Linked DNA regions of Homo sapiens: region 2 is linked to region 1. Evidence: promoter capture Hi-C in 16 types of primary human blood cells and fetal thymus (Javierre and others, 2016). All regions are on one chromosome and are shown on one strand. The core of a region is centred on a gene start or on the middle of the fragment in contact, and the rest is flanking DNA. Distances in the headings are between cores, read along the strand shown. Region 1 holds the start of LATS1 (large tumor suppressor kinase 1). Region 2 overlaps RAET1E-AS1 (RAET1E antisense RNA 1).

Region 1 (2,841 bases), core at 94-2,593:
ACACAATGCTACTTCTTTTACTGTTCAATCAAATTCCTCCACTGCCTTAAGGAATCAACTACCCCATTTTACCGTCAGAGATAATAAGCTTTGTTTTCGTAGCACAGAACATTCACTCCAATTATAATGTCCTACCTTTTCTTCCTCATGGAGGAAATTTGATAAAAAATTAAGTTTATCAGAAACTTCTGATAAACTGATAAACTGATAAATTTATTAACCTTCAATAAATAATTCATAAAGTTCAAACAAGTTTCATGATCGCTAACATTCAAATCCATTTCCAAAACTGGAGTTATACAATATTACTTCTGTGCATGAGATTATACTTATTGTTCACTAGATTTATGAATAACTTCTGGAGGATGATACATGTTTTAAAAGCCGTATTAACATATGAGTTGACAAACATTAAATTTTGTTCCCTTAGAAATTGACAGAGAAGTCAGAATGGGGATAAATCAAGTCATCTGAGGCATTCATTGAGCTACAAGCTATTTCAGGTTATAAAAAACACTGTTCCCTTAATTGTCGTTCCTTCATTTGCTGTATTTATATACACACTCCTACTCCATAAAGACCTCTCCATCTCTCCCACCTCTTCCAACTATGAACAGTAACCTAAAATCACACTGAACTAGACGTAAGAGACTCCCAGGATTTCTCTAAGGTATACCCAGGATCAAGGCCCTCTGGGATCCAAAGAACTGTAGCTCTTTTACTGCAATTTTCCTTCAGAACCACCTTTCCCGTTCCTTCCCTCCTGGACACCGCCGACTCGCGTGTTGGGGGTGGGGTGGGAGACACGCCGCCAGAAAGACAGGCTCTACCCAGCCAAACCTGCACCTCCGAGGCCGAAAAGCCTGGGGCTCTTCCTGCAGCACCGGGCGCGGCCAACCCTCGCTTCCCCAGGGCAGGGCTCAGCTCGGGTCAATGCAACCAGCCAAGTCAGGCCCGGAGCGGGCCGGCTCTGCCCGCCAGTCCAAACCTCTGGACCCTCGCCAGCGGGGATGGGCGTGGGCCCCGGCGGCCACCGCCCCGCCAACTCGAGCACTGGAGGAGCGCACCCGCTACGCCAGCCCCGGACCTACCTGGAGGGGAGAGCAGAGCTCCTGGACAGCGGCCACGGGCCTGAGGGCGGACGCTGAGGCGGCCAGAGTCCGTCCCAGCAACCCCAAGTATCCCTGGTGGGGCAGAGCGGGGAGACGAACGGGGGGGCTGCCGCGGGCCAGCGCGGCCCGTCCCAGGGGTCGTGAGGACCTGGCTCTCCCCTTAACACCAGGCCACCGCCGCCGCCGCCGCCATTTTGCCTTCCACTCAGTGTCGCCGCCGCCGCACTCCGCTGCAGGTTTCCCGGATGTGGGCATTTCCCGGCGTCGCTTGCGCGGGGGCCGAGGACTGGGGGCTTTTGCCCGCCCGGCTGCTGCGAGGGAGCGCGCAGCCTGCGGCCTCCGGGCTTCGTTGCGTCGCCCGCAGCTCTGATCGTTCGTGAGCGTCGCCCCACGTCGCTCCCGCCTGCCCCTGCCCATACGACTCGCCCGCGCCCGTGGGTTAAGGCTGTCTCCCGCCCAGCCTACTTGGTTGATTCAATCCTTTTCCCCATTGATCTATTTCTCTGGACCGAGTAGGGATGTGCATTTCACGGAGCTACGTTCTCAGAAGGGAACAACTGAGTTGCTCTGGGAAACCTCCCTGTGGACCTCAGAATTCCAGATTTTTGGCGCTTTGAAATAAAATTTTATTCTTGCTTAGCGTTCTTTCCCCGAACAAGCCGGTGAGCTTCCAGCATCTGTATTTTCTGAATCCGGCAGATAAGAAATGCTTGAGCCAGGACCGATTGATTAGCAGCGGTTTAGAGATCTTATCTGTCAACCGCATCCGTAGAAGGAGATCGTTATTGCCATAATTGGAATACCGGTGACGGTGTGACAAGAGGTTTTACTTCTGGTTAAGCTGAATGTAAAGTGTGGGATGGGATCGTTGGGTTTGATGTATAAGGTACGGTCCACCCTTTGTGAAGATCGCCTTTGCCAGTTTTTCCTCTAGGAAATATACAGTTAGTGTTTTCAAGTACCTTCTTTCGTAATTTTTCTACTACAGAGTACAAAAAAATTAAAGACATCTTTTTCTGACGTTAAAGTAATAACTGGCTACTTACTGTATCTAGAAATCCAAATGTGAAAACCCGTTAAAAGATTATGTTCCGGACGGGCGCGGTGTCTCACGCCTGTAATCCCAGCACTTTGGGAGGCCGAGGCGGGCGGATCACGAGGTCAGGAGATCGAGAACATCCTGCCTAACACGGTGAAACCCCGTCTCTGCTAAAAAATCCAGAAAAATTTGCCCGGCGTGGTGGCGGGCGCCTGTAGTCCTAGCTACTCGGGAGGCTGAGGCAGGAGAATGGCAGGAACCCGGGAGGCGGAGCTTGCATTGAGCCGAGATCGCGCCACCGCACTCCAGCCTGGACGACAGAGCGAGACTCCGTCTCAAAAAAAAAAAAAAAAAAAAAAAGATTATGTTCCAAGAACATTTGGTTGAAAGTCTATTTTCTACAAGCACAGAGTTTGTAGAAGGCAATGTGACCCAAGGTGGGTCACTAAAGAGCCCCAGGGCTTACTTTCTTCAACGTAAGGGTGCCCCATAAAGACCTTTTCAGCCCTAAAATTATATGAATTATAGGAATCTAATATGTCCACAGGTCTGCTTGCCCTATCCAAAAGGATTATGCATCTGGAAGGGCAGACTGCCCCCAGAATCCTGTCACGTCTGTCATCAACCCATGGTACTTAAGCTCCTCAATGCTCTCTAAACCTAAAGGAAAGTATCTCCACAAACTCTAGT
Region 2 (2,841 bases), core at 88-2,587, 190 kb after region 1:
AGTTAAAGTCACGCCACCTGGCTGTGGAGATCAATGAGGCTGAAGTGCAACAGGAGCAGCAGGAATCCCTCCTGGGAGATCTCCAGGATGACATTCCCCCAGGTGACAGCCTACCAGGCCCGTGGAAAGCCCTGGCTAGTAACCTCACAGCTGCAGTGTGGCAAATCAAACAGAGCTGGAGTTGTCTGGTAGATCCTTGGAGCAGGTGCTGCTGCCCCACATGGACACCTTCCTGCAAGTGCATTTCGGCCCCATCTGAAAGAGCTTAAAGGAAAGCTTGCATGGCTTTTCCCCGGACATAACAAATCTGTTTCTTGATGTGGAGGCCAACACCAGGCCATCACGATGGTCCAGGATAGTGCTGTGGCCAGGGCTGACTGCCAGGAGCTTGGTGGTAAATTTGAAGCCAAGATCCAGGAAAATGCTCAGAGAGTGGGCCAGCTGTGAAAGGATGTGGAGGACTGACGGCATGCTCGGTGCTCTTCCCTGTACACTCCCTCTCTGAGGTCCAGGCTGATGTGGACACCAAATTGAAGAGGCCAAACCCAGGAGGCCCCAAGGACTAATGGCAGCTGCGTGTTGATGACGGCAGGGGCTGGGGCAAGGCCTGAACTGGAGAGCCTGCAGGCCAGGCTGGCCAACTGCAGAGGAACCTCTGGGTGCTGCACATGGACTCAGCCTGCAGGGAGGAGGAATTGCAAAACACCCCTCAGGGATATGAGGGCTACCCTGACCCGGCACGTGGATGAGATGAAGGAGCTGTGCTCCGAATTGGACGAGACCTTCCATCAGATCAGCAAAATGGAGCCAGAGATGGAGGTGAACCACAGGGCGCTCTGTGAGCTGTGTGTGGTCCTGATGAAGCCTTTAATTATGGAGGCAAACAAGGTGGAGGTGGAGTAGCAGCTCCTGGAGCTCAGCCTCACCCTGCAGCACCTGTGGGGCGACCACACTGACCTCATCAAGTATGTCAAGGAGGCAGCTGCCACAAGCTCTACTTTCACTTGGAGGCCGTCCGGGAGTGCCACGGGGACACCACGCACCCTGAAGGAGACCCAGGGGAGCCTGGATGGCGGCGCCAGCTGCACAGCTCCTAGGCTGCCCTGATGGAGGCCTGCTGGCCTCCCTCTCTGGGGAGGAGGTGATGGAGGAGAGGTCAAAGGAGGCGCACGGCCAGCTTCCCCTGCCCGTGAGCAGATCTGCCTGGCCCTGAAGGAGCAGGTGCTCGGTTGGGACTCGCTGGCTACCCGGGTGGCAGCCCTGGAGCAGGCCACGAGTGGGCCGTGGCTTGGAGCCCCCATGGCCGGCAGAGCACTTGGAGCTGGCGACCACTTGGGCCCAGAAGAAGCTGTGTGAAGCCCTGGCTGGGCTGGCTCAGGAGCTCCAGCTCCTGAGATCTGACTTCAGTGGCTCGGGTGGTGCTGCAAGGCTGCCCAGCCACCTCTCTCACCTGCCTCGGGGCCTCCATGGTCCGCCTCCGAGTGCAGCTTGGACTGCACCAGCTGCTCCTCCTTGGAAACTTCCAAGAGCTGGTGACAGCAGTGTCAGCCTAAATCTGGGGAAGCTGGAAACCGTGCCCAGCAGGAAAAGGAAGCAGAAGCAGAAAGGCCCAGAAGTTCCCCGGAAGAGGGACAGGAAAGAAGCTGAGCCTTTGCCAGACACACACATCAAAGGGCCAGTGCCAGATGCCTTGAACACTGAGCTCTGGCAGGCAGGCTCCCCTGTGGCCTTCTATGCCAGTTTCTCAGAAAGGACAGCTGCCCTGCAGACATGGAAGTTCAACACTAGCTACATCGACACTGACAGCAGCAACTTCCCTGAACATGGCTACTACCAAGCCGGAGTTTGGTGTCCCATTTGCAGTGAGCATTGAATTTGGCCCAGGGCCAGGAACCAGGCACCTGGTGTTTGGAGGGCTCCATCAGGGACCCTGGGCGGGAAGCACAGCAGCCACCTTTGCCATGGCTGAGCTGCGAAAGGGTGAGAGAGTGTGGTTGGAGTTAACCCAGGCATTGGTAACAAACAGAAACCAGCGAGGCACTGCATTTGGGGGCTTCCTGATGTTCAAGACATGAACCCTGGGCCCAGCTCTGATTGGACATCATGGACTTGCCCAGCTCTCCTTGGTCTAGGGCTCTGGCCAAGGATGGTCTGCAGATCATCCTGTTGGTCTATCTCTTCCCTGGACAGCTTCTGCGAGAGAGTGTGGTGTACGTGGTCTCTGTCTAGCGCACTGGGTTTGGCTATTTCTCAATGACAAGGGGGACTGGACTACTTCTCTGGGTGGGACCTGGTTCTGAGCTTGGTATGCCTTCTCAGACAGCACAGGCTGGACTCCAGCCCTTTGCCATACTGTGTATTCTACAGCTGCTTTGGTGGCGTGCTCCTCTTGTGGATGGAAGCTTCTGTGCAGCACTTTAACTCTTTCTCCTGCTTCCTATTCTCTTCTCCCTAATTGTTGGCTACAAAGTCATCTTTCCCAGAAGGAGTCTCTAAGATGGAGGTGACATTTGGACAGTATTGGAAAGCAGTCTCCAACGACTAGAGGACAGTGGAATAAAGCCAACCTGTTTGGTCTCTGTCAGCCAGAAATGGAGAAGAAAACCTGGTTGAGTCAACAAGAGAAAGAAAATTAGTATCTTTCGTTTCAGTTATTCCTTGTATTTATCTGTAATTTTAATTTCATATCTTTCTCTCCTTGCCATACACAGAGCAAAGGCCCAAACATGCCAAATGTGAACCAAAATGTATATGGCCTTCACCATTTTTACTTCCTCCAGTATCTTTGGGCCATCTGAATTCTTGCTAGCATGTCTAACCAGGAGGCAGCTGAGGAAGGAG

Evidence for each region. The method cuts DNA at HindIII sites, captures the fragments that hold promoters and counts their contacts. A CHiCAGO score of 5 or more calls a contact.
Region 2: a contact is called between a fragment that was not itself captured here and the fragment with the promoter of LATS1 in region 1, in 1 of 17 cell types (erythroblasts). The highest score is 5.3, in erythroblasts.

Annotation. Positions count from the first base shown.
Region 1 is chr6:149,716,758-149,719,598 of GRCh38, forward strand. It overlaps LATS1 (large tumor suppressor kinase 1), which reads right to left and starts at 1,344. Exons shown (of 8, transcript NM_004690.4): 1 at 1,092-1,344. It overlaps LOC645967 (a long non-coding RNA gene), which reads left to right and starts at 864. Exons shown (of 1, transcript NR_134652.1): 1 at 864-2,139. RefSeq lists a silencer at 834-1,223. The HindIII fragment of the contact is 4,826 bases long and covers 87-2,841 here.
Region 2 is chr6:149,904,344-149,907,184 of GRCh38, forward strand. The region is part of intron 1 of RAET1E-AS1 (RAET1E antisense RNA 1); the gene reads left to right. It also overlaps the pseudogene LOC100240714. Among named protein-coding and RNA genes, the nearest start is that of RAET1E, 7.7 kb to the left of the region's middle. The HindIII fragment of the contact is 2,126 bases long and covers 275-2,400 here.